Regions from separate parts of the Homo sapiens genome. Here region 2 is linked to region 1. Evidence: promoter capture Hi-C in human tissues and cell types (Jung and others, 2019). All regions are on one chromosome and are shown on one strand. The core of a region is centred on a gene start or on the middle of the fragment in contact, and the rest is flanking DNA. Distances in the headings are between cores, read along the strand shown.

Region 1 (6,902 bases), core at 2,294-4,793:
CACCATAGACTAGTTTTGCCTAACCTTACATAGTTTTTAAAATTGTAGGTGAATACAGAATCTGGAGCTACAGGACTTAGGGTTAGATCCCTGGTTCCTGGCTGAGTGATCTTCAACAAGCCATTTAATTTCTGTCACACTCAGTTTTCTTCTCTGTATAATGGTCATAAAAATACCTTGTACTGGCCGGGTGCGGTGGCTCACGCCTATAATCCCAGCACTTTGGGAGGCTAAGGCGGGCAGATCACAAGCTCAAGAGTTCAAGACCAGCCTGGCCAATATGGTGAAACCCCATCTCTACAAAAATACAAAAATTAGTCAGTCGTGGTGGCATGCACCTGTAATCCCAGCTGCTCGGGAGGCTGAGGCGGGAGAATCGCTTGAACCCGGGAGGCAGAGGTTGCAGTGAGCGGAGGTTGGGCCACTGCACTCAAGCCTGGGCGACAGAGTGAGACTCAGTCTCCAAAAAAAAAAAAAGCAAATTCTCAGGCCCTGCCCCAGACCTACTGAATCAGAAACTCTAGGAGTGGCCTCAGCAACCTACAGTTTAACTAACTTTGCAGGCAATTCTGATAAGTACTGAGGTTTGAAAACCACTGCACTAGAGAAACTGAATGAGGATGGGGCGCAGGAATCTGTATTTTAGCAATCTTTCCTAAGGCATGTTGCAGGAAACATGAAGTGGTTTTGAAAGTACTTTGCTTGAGGCTTGAAGGCTTGAACCTAGGAGTTTGATTTTTTATTTTTTTTAGATGGGGTTTCACTCTGTCACTCAGGATGGAGTGCAGTGGCGTGATCTTGGCTCACTGCAGTCTCCGTCTCCTGAGTTCAAGCAATTCTCCCACCCCAGCCTCCCGAGTAGCTGAGATTACAGGGGTGTGCCATGCCCAACTAATTTTTGCATTTTTTTTTTTGAGACAGATTCTCGCTCTGTGGCCCAGGATGGAGTGCAGTAGCACGATCTTGGCTCACTGCAACCTCCGCCTCCCAGGTCCAAGCAATTCTCTGCCTCAGCCTCCTGACTAGCTGGGATTACAGGCACCCGCCACCACGCCCGGCTAATTTTTGTATTTTTAGTAGAGATAGGGTTTCACCATGATAGCCAGGCTGGTCTTGAACTCCTGATCTCGTGATCCGCCCGCCTTGGCCTCCCAAAGTGCTGGGATTATAGGCGTGAGCCACCGTGCCCGGTCTAATTTTTGCATTTTTAGTAGAGATGGGGTTTCACCATGTTAGCCAGGCTGGTCTTGAACTCCTGACCTCAGTTGATCCATCCGCCTCGGCCTCCCAAACCATGCCCAACAAATTTTTGCATTTTTAGTAGAGACAAGATTTCACCATGTTGGCCAGGCTGGTCTCAAACTCCTGACCTCAGGTGATCCACCCGCCTCAGCCTCCCGAAGTGCTGGGATTATAGGAGTGAGCTACTGCGCCCAGCCTTTATGTTTCTTTTGTTGTTTGTTTTTTGAGACAGAGTCTCGCTGAGTCGCCCAGGCTGGAGTGCAATGGCGTGATCTTGGGTCACTGCAACCTCCCCCTCCTGGGTTCAATCAATTATCGTGCTTCAGCCTCCCAAGTAGCTGGGATTACAGGCACCCGCCACCACACCTGGCTAATTTTTGTGTTTTTAGTAGGGAAGGGGTTTCACAAGGCTAGGCGTGGTGGCTCACCCAACTCTACTAAAAATACAAAAATTAGCCAGGCGTGATGGCATGCGCTTGTAGTCCCAGCTACTTAGGAGGCTGAGACAGGAGAATCACTTGAACCCAGGAGGCGAGCGGAGGTTGCAGTGAGCCAAGATTGCGCCACTGCACTCCAGCCTGGGCGACAGAGCAATACTCTGTCTCAAAAAAAAAAAAAAAAAAAAAAAGAGACGGGGTTTCACCATGTTGGCCAGACTGGTCTCAAACTCCTGACCTCAAGTGATTTGCCTGCCTTGGCCTCCCTAACTCCTGGGATTACAGGTGTAAGCCACTGACCCTAGCCAAGCCTAGGAGTCTGAGAACAGCCTGGGCAACACAGGGAGTCCACGTCTCTACAAAAATAAAAACAATTAGGATAGTGTGGTGGCTTGAGCCTGGAGTCCCAGCTACTCAGGAAGCTGAGGTGAGAGGATCACTTGAGCCCAGGAGGTTGGCTGCAGTGAGCTATGATTGCACCGCTGCACTCCAGGTTGGGTGACAGAGCAAGACTCTGTCTCAAAAAAAAAAAAAAAAAAAAAGTCACTTTGAAAAATGTGACTTTCCAGATGGCAAAATACTATTTTCATTAGGAGGAAACAGGCTAAACAGTAATAGCAAAGGTCACTAAGTATTGAGCACTTAGTCATACCTCTGAGTCTCTGCCTGCATAGCCTATTATTTCTCACAAGCAATCCATGAAGAAGGTTAAGACAACGGACTTTCACGCCAGACTGCCTGGGTTCTTATCAAGTATGTGACTTAGTTTATATATTTGTAAAATGGGGATAATAATGGTATTTCTGTAATAGGTTTGTTGTGAGAATAAAGGGAGCTTGGTATCAGCTCTTAGAATACCGGACAGGCCACGTTGGCTCCACTAAGCTGTTGTCATCATCCCTAAGGGCACCCAGTTAAAAGGTAGAAAAGGGAGGATTTGAATCCGGTCAGTGTAACTCTCAAGTGTACATTTTTTTTCTTTTATTTTCTTTTTAACCACGCCCTTTAATGTACATTGTTAAAGGCTAAGCCAGGCCAGGTGCAGTGGCTCACATCTGTAATCTCAGCGATTGGGAGGCCCGAGGAGGGAGTATCGCTTGAGCCCAGGAGCTGGAGACCAGCCTGGGCAACATGGCGACACCGTGGCCCTATTCCCGCCCCATCCCATCCGCACTCCACCCCATCCCCATCTCTACAAAGAATAGAACAAAATTAGTCGGGTGTGGTGGTGCTCAACTGCTGTCCCAGCTACTCAGGAAGCCCAGGTGGGAGGCTCGCTTGAGCCCAGGAGTGTGAGGCTGTAGTGAGCTATGACTGCACCACTGCACTCCAGCCTGGGTGAAGGGTGAGACCTTATCTCAAAAAGAAGAAAAAAAAAGAAAAGGAAAAGAAAAAGAAAAAAGAACAACTAAGTTATAAACTAAGCTATATAGCCCATTGGTTCTCAAATTATGATTTCACTCACTAGCAGTATCACTAGACAGCTTGTTGGACATGCAAATTATCAGACCCTATCCTCCTATGCCAGATCTTCTGATCAGAAACTCTGGGGGTGGGGGTCAGCAGTGTAAGTTTTAATAAGCTCTCTAGGTGATTCTGATGCACACCATAGTTTGAGAATCACAGTCCTTATAGGCTCTGGTGGGCGGGGTGTTAAAAAAAAAAAAAAGCCTGGAGGTGCTGGGAGCCGCTCGCGCCCATCTCACCTGGAGCTGAGGAAAACTGGGATTTAACTGATTTACCACCGCAGCCAGCTCTTCAAGCCAGGGGCGGGCCGGACGGCTGGCGCGCAAGGCCTGCTGGGGCTTGTAGTCTAGACCACTTCCGCGCTCAGGCGCCTGCGCTTTAGCTGCTAACTCGCTCTAGTAGCTGTGGTCGGGGCTCGGGACCGGCTGCCATCTTAGTCTAGGGACTGAGGAGTCGCCGCCGCCCCGAGTCCCGGTAAACCCCCGTGGGCGAACTCGGGGCAGTTCTCGGGAGAGGGAGGGAGTCCGGATGAGAATGTTCGGGGAGAACAAGGGTAGAGGAGTGGGACGCGCGGTTCGGGACCCCAGAGCCGCGGCTGCTCCTTCTTCCAGAGCCGGTGTCTGTCGGGGGCGCGGGGAGCTCGGGCTACTGGCCCGGGCCGGGCGGTGGGGGTGGGCTGTCTGGACGTTCGGAGGGATCAGTGTCTGGCACAGGCTTCCGGAGGCCTTCGCCTCGCGGGCTCCAAGTTGTGAAAGGGCTGGGCCACGACGGGCGTGGGTACCGTCCGGCCCCTCGCCCCTCAGCCCCGCCTGGGGCCACTCTCCAGCGGTTCGGCCTACGCGCGGGGCCCGGCGGCGGGGCCGGCGCGGGCGACGTGGCCCTGTGAGGGGCGGCGGCCGGGTCCCCCGCCACCCAGCTGGCCTTCTCGAGACTTTTCCGAGCCCCCAGTCGCTAGAAGGGCCCAGCACAGCGGCTGCCTCCCCTTCTCTCTCCCACTCGCCTCCTCCTTCCATTGTCCCCCCGGCGTGGTGGTCCCGGCTCCGGCGCCCTCCCCGACGTCCGCCACCGTCGTGGCGGCGCCGACTTTTGCAGACGTGGAGCTGTCACTGCCCTTCCTCCGGAGAGTGCCCTTTTCTTTAGCAGAGAAAAGAAAAAAGTAGCCGTTGAACGTATTCTAAGGGTCGAAGCATGATGACATGACTTTTAAGTGGAGAACTCAAGTTTTCCAAGACAGTTCCCGTCCGCGACAGAAAAGAGAATCGCAGAATTTGTGCGCCCGAAGTAGACGCTGGGCCTAAAGTTAGTTGGACATGTAACCAGGTGAACTTGTAAAGGGCCAGGAATTCATTATCCCCAATAACAACGCAACCTTGTTTTCTTGGTTGTATTCGTATCCTAATCTTATTACATTTTCTGCCATTCTTCCACAGCTACAGTATACTTGGTTTGGAGTGGGGGATGGGGAATTGTGGGATTTTTGCCTTGAAAATTAGTAAGACCCTGGAGCCAGCCACCCACTTAGGTGGGTTCTCCTGCATCTTTTCCTGATAGAATTCGATCTTCAGGAAGTATGTAAAGGCAGTGTATTTCCATTCTCAAAATCGGCTAAGGAATGGTTTATCAGTTGAGGTGAAGTTCTCATGGCAGATCTGCTGAGAGCTTGCTATGTGTATTTACAGGTTTATTTAAGCTACGATTTATTTTTAAAATTAAGAAATGGGCCGGGTGCTGTGTGTGGCTCACGCCTGTAATCCTAGCACTTTGGGAGGCCGAGGCGGGCAGATCATGAGGTCAGGAGTTCGAGACCATCCTGACCAACATGGTGAAACCCCGTCTCTACTAAAAATACAAAAAAAAAAAAAAAAAAATCCTGGGCGTGGTGGCGCGCGCCTGTAGTCCCAGCTACTAGGGAGGCTGAGGCAGGAGAATGGCTTGAACCCGGGAGGTGGAGGCTGCAGTGAGCCGAGATCTCGCTGCTGCACTCCAGCCTGGGCGACAGAGCGAGACTCCGCCTCAAAAAAAAAAAAAAAAAAAAAGCAATGGGATGGGTGTGGTGGCTCACGCCTGTAATCCCAGCAATTTGGGAGGCCGAGGTGGGCGGATTACGTGAGCCCAGGAATTGGAGATCAGCCTGGGCAACATCGTGAAACCCCGTCTCTACAAAAAATACAAAGATTTGCCGGGTGTGGTGGCAGGCGCCTGTGGTCCCAGATACTCAGGAGGCTGAGGTGGGGGAATCACCTGATTCCGGGGGGTCGAGGCTGCGGTGAGCTGTTACCGTTGCCACTGCATTCCAGCCTGGGTGACAGAGTGAGACCCTGTCTCAAAAAATAAAAAAAAAAATTTAGAAATGAAGGTGGAAATTCTACTGCTTCTTTGAACTGTGAATTTAAGTTTTGTGAGTCCAAAAGGAATTCCATTACATTCAGCATACAGGTCAAGTCACCAAGGATATCATATGAAATTAAAAAAATGAGTACAGACTACTTCTTCAGTGTATTCTAGAATCAAACATTTCTACATTCTTTAGAAAAAAATACATCTTTTTCGTTTGTTTGAGACGGAATCTAACTTTGTCACCCAGGCTGGAGTACAGTGGTGTGATCTCGGCTTACTGTAACCTCCGCCTCCCGGGTTCCAGCAATTCTTCTGCCTCAGCCTCCGTAGTAGCTGGGACTACAGGCGCGTGCCACCACTCCCGGTAATTTTTTTGTATTTTTTAGTAGAGATGGGTTTTCACCATATTGGCTAGGCTGCTCTCGAACTCCTGACCTCGTGATCCACCTGCCTTGGCCTCCCAAAGTGCTGGGTTTACAGGCATGAGCCGCCACTCCTGGCCCTAAAAAATACATCTTTTCACTTATTGGGAGAGGCAGACAAACCAGTAGTCCCCAAATTTGACCATTAGAATAATTAGGAGAGCTTAGAAATTCCAGGGTCTTACCTTCTGAGATGGATTTAGTAGGTCTGGGTTGGCTTCAACCAATTTATTTTTAACACATGCCTTAGGTAATTCTGATGGTCTTGGGAACCACTGAGGGCAAATGGTACTGTAGACTTACCAAGGAAAGGTCAAAAAGCTTTGAGACGAAAGAGGAAGTGGCCAATTCTGTGTGTGTGGCTGGGTGGAGGATTGGTTAGAAGAGGCAAGATTTGCCCCTGAACCCACATTGGGTCTTACATGAAGAGTAGGAGTGTGAAAAGGGCGGGGAAAGAGAAGGACAGGGTAGGCTGAGTGAATGCCTTAATGCTGTGTGTAAATTCAGAGGATTATGGAACAAAAAGGGTTCAGGGAGTGTGGAGTGGAATGGGGAAGGAGAGCATTTTGAAACGCAAGGTCAGAAAGGTTAAAGGAAGCAAGTATATGAAAAGTGATTTTTTGTTGTTGAGACTGGGTCTCACCCAGTCACGCAGGATGGAGTGCAGTGACAGGACCTCCAGAGCTCAAGTGATCTTCCCACCCCAGCCTCCCTGAGTAGCTGGGACAACAGGCATGCATTAGCATGCCTGGCTAATTTTTAAAATTTTTTTGTAGAGAAAGGTTCTCTTTACGTTGCCCAGTCTGGTCTTAACTCCTGTGTTCAAGTGGTCCTCCCACCTTGGCCTCCTAAAGTGTTGGGATTACAGGTGTAAGCTACTGTGCTCTGGCTAAAAATTTTAAGTATAATGCTAAAAATTTGGAATTTTATGTTGGTAGAAATAGATACAGGGCTGGGCTCAGTGCCTCACACCTGTAATCTCAACAGTTTGGGAGGC
Region 2 (6,902 bases), core at 1,842-4,341, 1.4 Mb after region 1:
TGTTACTTCTGGTCTAAAGTCAGTGGACTTTAGACCAAAATCTTGTAAACTGGAGCTCTCTGGCTAGCATTCCATTAATATTCAGTTCAGAAGAAGCTGGTAAGTCAAATTTCTGCAAGTTTTTACATCAGAAAGAGCTTAGCTCACAAGGTACTTTTTTCTCATCTGTATTCAGTTATTTTTCCCTGATCAGTGTCAGTCTCCTTCCAACCCTCACTTCCCATCTTGGGGAGTACCCTTAGGGGCAGGTCATTCCTCTCTTCTTTCCCTGGCAGGCTGGACTCATCCATGTGACCTGAGATTGGCCAATCGACAGTGGCTGCTGGCCAAGACCTTGCCTCTTGAGTGAGTGACTCAAAGACAAAGGGATACTAAGATTGAATCACAGCAGTGGTGCGCAGTGTTGCTGGGGGCAGCAGCTGTTGTTGCTCTTTCTTGGTGGAGCTGTCCTTGTGCCTGTTTGTTTTCCAAGCCTGCACTCCTGTTGTAGCTCAGGGGCCCTTGTAACATATTTCTCTTTTGCTTGCCATGATTACTTCACCAGTCTGTGAGCTCCTCGAGAGCAGGGCCTAAGTCTCATTGTGCTCTGAGTGTTTGGTGCCCATCTTGAATTTGACTCTCGGTAAATGCAGGTTGAATAAGTAAAGAAACATGCTATATTTATACGGGGCTACAGAGTCTGGAGTTCTTGGCATTATTGTGGTTGGGGGGCAAAAAGTTCTTTGTGTGCTACCATAGCCACTGACATCTGAGCAATTTCATATTAATAAACATAAACCCAGAGGATCTTGGGAAGGCCCTTCCTATATGTGAGCACTTACTTGACTGAGTGGCACTGATTCTCAAATTGCTGATTTTTTAAAAAGTATGAAATGTATCATGAATTTGCATGCTTATCCTTATGCAGGGGTCATGTGAATCTTTTCTGTATTGTTACAATTTTATTTTATTTTATTATTATTTTTTGAGATGGAATCTTGCTCTATCACCCAGGCTAGAGTGCAGTGGTGCTATCTCGGCTCACTGCAACCTCTGCCTCCAGGGTTCAAGTCATTCTCCTGCCTCAGCCTCTCAAGTAGCTGGGACTACAGGCATGCACCACCACACCTGGCTAATTTTTGCATTTTTAGTAGAGAGAGGGTTTCACCATGTTGGCCAGGCTGGTCTCGAACTCCTCACCTCAGGTAATCTGCCCGTCTTGGCCTCCCAAAGTGCTGGGATTACATGCGTGAGCCACCGCGCCCAGCCATGTTACAATTTTAATAGAATACATGTACTGCCCAAGCAAGTGTAGCTGAAGCTTTTGTCCCTGGTTCCACAGTGTCTCTACCTAAGGGCTGCTCTTTGCCCTGACTACCTCAACTGAGGCAATACCCTCCTTAGTTTCCAGCCCTGGTTTAAAAAGCACCCCTCAGGCTGGATTTGCTGGCTGAGGCCTGTAATTCCAGCATTTCTGGAGGCTGAGGCAGGAGGATCACTTGAGCCAAGGAGTTTGAGACCAGCCTGGTCAACAAAGTGAGACCCTGTCTCTAAAAAAAAAAAAAAAAAAACTCGGCCGGGCACGGTGGCTCACGCTTGTAATCGCAGTATTTTAGGAGGCCGAGGCGCGCGGATCATGAGGTCAGGAGTTCAAGACCAGCCTGGCCAAGATGGTGAAAACCCGTCTCTACTAAAAAAAATATAAAAAATTAGCTGGGCGTGGCGGCGTGCGCCTGTAATCCCAGCTACTTGGGAGGCTGAGGCAAAGAATTGCTTGAACCCGGGAGGCAGAGGTTGCAGTGAGCCAAGATCGCACCACTGCACTCCCGTCTGGGCTACAGAGCGAGACTCTATCTCAAAAAAAAAAAAAAAAAGTGGCCAAGTACGGTGTTAATTCCAGCACTCTGGGAGGCTGAGGTGGGTGGACTGCTTGAGCCCAGGAATTCAAGACCAGCCTGGGCAACATCGTGAAACTGCGTCTCTACAAAAAAATGCAAAAATTAGCCAGGTGCACACCTGTGGTTCCAGCTATCTGGGAGACTGAGGTGGGAGAATTGCTTGGGCCTAGGAGGTGGAGGTTATGAGGAGCCGAGACTGCGCCACTGCACTCCAGCCTGGGTGACACAGTGAGACCGTGTCTCAAAAAAAAAAAAAAATTAGCTAGGCATGGTGGCATGGGCCTGCAGTCCCAGCTACTCAGAAGGTTGAGCTGGGACCACAGGTGCGCACGTTCACGCCTGGCTAATTGTTGTATTTCTTGGAGAGACGGGGGTCTAGCTATGTTGCCCAGGCTGGTCTCGAACTCCTGAGCTCAAGTGATCTACCCACCTCAGCCTCTCATAGTGTTGGGATTACAGGCGTGAGCCACTGCTCCTGGTCTCATATTCTTTTGGGGTGGCTTCAACTCCGACCTTCGTCCCCAGAGAAAATACAGCTCCTTATCCTTAGCAGCAATTGGAAACCTTTCTAGGAGTTAATGATAAAGTGGGGGAGAAATGAGTGCAAAGGCTCTGAGATGAGAAGAACCTGGATTGTTAGCGGAGTTGAAGGACACTGAGAATGTGGGGGAGCTGGATTCGTGAGGATAAGAAAGCAGCAGGTCAGGTCCAGACTTTGAAGAGCCTGGTAGATAGTCTAGGTGAAGAGTTAGATCTTAATCCGGAGTAGGGAGGGAAACGAGCTTTGAGCAGGGGATGGCGTTTTGAAAAGACCTCTCTGCCGGTGTACGAAGAATGGATTAGAACGGCGAAGAGTAATAGGGTGGAAACCATCTTCATCTTGGAGAGAGATGGTGGTCGCTTCGATGGAGAAATGGGAAGCTTTGAGACGCATTTAGGTGGCAAAATTAACGGGTGATGGATAGCGTCCATTCCCCGGCTTCGGTGATCTCAGTGATTACGAGTGAGTGGGGACTTCGTGTTCCTGCTAGGGCGCGGGCCTGTTTCCCGCGCGTCAGGGTAGTGGGCGTGGCCTGCGCAGGCCGTTGCCACAGTGATCGGGCAGACGGGGCAGGGGGCGGGGCAGCTGGGACCTTACGTCACTCGGTGGTGGCGATGATGCGTGTGTGTGGGGGGCGGGGCATACGCTGGGCGCGTCCCGGGGGTCACGTGGTGCAGAGCACGCAGAGTCCTTCTGTCGGTTGGTCCTGGAGCGGCGCAGCCGGAGTGGGGCCGTGAGGTGAGCTCGCGGCCAGGCGAAGCCGGCCGGCCGGGCCGGGTTGGGCCGGGCCCGCGCTGCGCGCGCGCCGTGCGGGCGGGGACGGCGACGGACGCCACCGCTGCTTCGGTCCCCTGCCCGGCCCCGCTCCCCGCCTGGCCCCGCTCGCCCAGCCTGGAGGGAGGCCCTGGGACTGCTGCTGAGAGCGTGGCGGGCGTGCGAGCGGTGCCCAATCCCCGGGGCTACCCGCAAGAGTGGCGGCGGCTGCCGCCAATCAGCGCCGCCCGAGGGGGCTGGGCCGTGGGGTGCGGGCCCGGGGCGCGGAGCGGGCCGTGTTGGGGGTGCGGGTAAGCCCTAGGGCCCGAGCCTGAGCTGTGTGGGCACCTAGAGCCTCATCAGCAGCCTCTGCTATTGCCTTGCGCTTTGGGAATATGTTTTTTAAAATTGGCTTTTTTTATCCTATTCTGGGGAGCACATTCCTTTCTCAAGACCCCAAATATGGGAGTGTCCCTTTTCTCTATAGTTTTGAAAACTGGGCGGCACACCCCCTTTCTTAAGCTCTAGCTCTGGAATTTTATCTAAATTTCTAAAAGCCCTCCCCCCCCCAAATTTAGGGCGTACCCTCTTCCGTCAGCCCCCAAAGTGGGAGCACATTCCTTTTTTCGGGCCTCCAATTTGATTCTGCATTTCCGTTCCAATTTAGAGGTTCACCCTGTTATCGGGTCCTCAGATCTGGGGTCCATTAGCTAAAGTTTTGGGATACTTTCTTGTATCCCCTCTACTCCAAGGAAGAATTCCCCTTTTCCAGGTCCCAAATCTGACAGCATGCCTTCTGGAATTTCTTACATTTAGGGGCCACTTCCTTTCCTCAGCCCTTCAAACCTGAGGTTGGGCCGAAAACAATGTCCAAATTTTGAAGTTTATGGGTACTTATTTCCAGTTTCACAAATAAGGGAATTCACTGCCTTCTCCCGAGACTGTATTATTGGGGTTACACACTTTTCACGTGTTCCCCAAATCAAACTACCTTATTTCCTGAAGGAGACTCATTTTCATATCTGGGAGTATATTTGTTTCTTGTGCCCCCCAAATGTACGAGGTGAACCCCTTTTAGTTATACAACTCTCAGAGTGCAGCCACTTTCCAGATGCTTCTTAAATTTGGGGGGCACACCTTTTTGTGAGTCCTCTCATTTCCAGGTGGCGAGTGGTCTGTGGTTTTGAGCATGCCTTCCTACCCTGTTTAGCTTTTCTGTCATCCAAGACATTTTCATTCCTCAGTTTCCTTCCCTTTTTGGAGCCACACTCCCCTTGAGGTGCTTTCCCCAGTCTGGTCAGTGCACCCATTTCCTCTTCCTCTGGCGAGTGCGTATCTTTGTTCAGCACGGCACTTTTCTCTGTGCTTCTGCGGGCTTTTCTTCTGAGCACACTTCCCAGAGTCACACCTCCTGAATTCTCCTCTCCTCCCAGGGAAGGATTCCTCTCCTAAAGGGCTACCAGCACATTGTTTTTGATAGGCCTATCTTTTATCTTTCCGCTAGCAGGATCTCTTCTCTCTTGGCTTGCCCAATCCCCAAACATTTTTCTGGTTTCTGTCTTTCTTTGGAATTGTTCTGTTTACCTAGTGGCTATAAAGATTTTCCTTGTGCTGGAGGTGGCCTCAAGTCTAGGACTGCCTGGGCCCCCAGCGCTGGATTCAAAGTGGAAACCATTTCTTTGGTTAATCACAGGACTCTGAATCCTCCTGGTGGTTTACTTCTAGAAGACCTAAGATTCTGTTTAGGTGCATACTGTTTTCTCCTTTGCTTTATCTCCTTGTGCTGGAAAACAAAAACAAACAAAACTCTCAGATTTTTCCAGCACTGCTTCTAGCCCATAAACTTCTTCCCTATATTGGCTTTCTTACTATCTTTTATGAAGAAAAGATGTCGTTTGGAGGAATCCCTTGGATACTCTTTTTGTTCTTGTCCCTGGGGTGTCGGTGGGGAAATGGATATTTTTCTCTCCCAATCATCCTCTTGTCAATCTTCTTTTTTTTTTTTTGAGACAGAGTCTCGCTCTGTCGCCCAGGCTGGAGTGCAGTGGCGCGATCTCGGCTCAGTGCAAGCTCCGCCTCCCGGGTTCACGACATTCTCCTGCCTCAGCCTCCCGAGCAGCTGGGACTACAGGCACCCACCACACCGCGCCCGTCTAATTTTTTTGTTTTTAGTAGAGACGGGGTTTCACTGTGGTCTCGATCTCCTGACCTCGTGATCCACCCGCCTCCGCCTCCCAAAGTGCTGGGATTACAGGCGTGAGCCACCAAGCCCGGCCAACCTCTTGTCAATCTTTACCCCCAATCCTCACATTAAAATCTGCAAATATCTGGGACCTCCTATCTCTTAAGAGCCTCAATAGTTCTTTCTTTTGTGTTTCCTTCTGCCTTTACAGATCTTATTCAGGGCTTCTCAGCCTGAACCCCCAACCAGATTAATTTCTCCACAGCTGGAATTCCAAGTGCTTGGGGATAATGATACCTCTGACCTTTCTTCCTTTTGGGAAGTACTTGAGTGTGCAGCTGCATGAGGCCTCAGCAGGAGAGAGATTTTAGGTCCAAGAAGCTATACCAGTAGGACAAGGCAGGAAAATACTACACTTTCAGGATCAAGCCCCTCTGACTCTCATTTGGAAACTGGATGTTTGCTAAGCACCTGCTTCTTAAGGATGCCGAGGGATTTAATGATACTCCCAGAAACCTGGAGAGATTAATGGGGCCTATGGAGAAGTGCTCTGAACTCAGTGTTGGGACTTGAATAAAATTAACCATTGTCATGTTTTCAGAACAACTAAGCTGTTTTATATTTCATGTGCATGAAAGCCCTAGAACTAAGTTGTGTTATTTCCAGAAATGAAATAGATCCCACAGTTAGATGATGTGGCCATTAGGAAGTACCAAATTTATAAAAATCACTGGAGGTCTGTCTGAGCAGTACCTAATAAAATATAGTATACTGAAAGTGAACAGATACTTTGTCTCTTTCTTTGGCTGCTTGATACTTTATCTGTGTACTGCCGTACAGTGCACCCTTAAAGTATTCTACACCAGTGCTTCTCAAACTTGAATGTGCATGTAAGTCACCCAGGGGTCTTGTTGAAATGCTGATTCTGATTTGGTAGATCTAGGATGGGACCTGAATGCATTTCTGATTTGCAGGTGATGCTGATGTTACTGAACTACACTTTTAGTAGTGAGGTTTCATACACGAAGACAAAGTTTCTCTGTGAAAATAGGAAGGTGGTGGTTAGCCTTATATTTTTTTATTTTATCTTTATCCAGACACACATCCCTTAAAAGTTTGTACAAGGCCATAGTCCCCTTTATTAGTTATACTCAATTAGTTATTCTAGCACATAGCTTTTTAAATATTGGCCAAAACTGGCTGGGCACGGTGGCTCATGCTTGTAATCCCAGCACTTTGGGAGCTGAGGCGGGCAGATCACGAGGTCAGGAGTTCGAGACCAGTCTGGCTAACACAGTGAAACCCTGTCTCTACTAAAAATAGAAAAATTACCTGGGTGTGGTGGCAGGCACCTGTAATCCCAGCTACATGGGAGGCTGAGGCAGAATACTTGCTTGAACCCGGGAGGCGGAGGTTGCAGTGAGCCAAAATTGCACCACTGCACTCCAGCCTGGGCCACAGAGTGAGACTCTGTCTCCAAAAAAAAAAAAAAAAAAAAGGCCAAAACTTCTCCAGGAGTTTGGTTTCTGTGTGTATATATATATATTTT

What was found. Contacts are between HindIII fragments. The study calls those that stand out against the background at their distance.
Region 2: the fragment with the promoter of PHF20 here is called in contact with the fragment with the promoter of ITCH in region 1 in 1 of the 25 tissues and cell types used here (lymphoblastoid cells).

The regions. Positions count from the first base shown.
Region 1 is chr20:34,359,730-34,366,631 of GRCh38, forward strand. It overlaps ITCH (itchy E3 ubiquitin protein ligase), which reads left to right and starts at 3,544. Exons shown (of 25, transcript NM_031483.7): 1 at 3,544-3,620. RefSeq lists a silencer at 3,849-4,078. The HindIII fragment of the contact is 21,756 bases long and covers 1-6,902 here.
Region 2 is chr20:35,768,924-35,775,825 of GRCh38, forward strand. It overlaps PHF20 (PHD finger protein 20), which reads left to right and starts at 3,092. Exons shown (of 18, transcript NM_016436.5): 1 at 3,092-3,156. It also overlaps the pseudogene LOC124904972. RefSeq lists silencers at 3,160-3,539, 4,544-4,838. The HindIII fragment of the contact is 9,618 bases long and covers 2,050-6,902 here.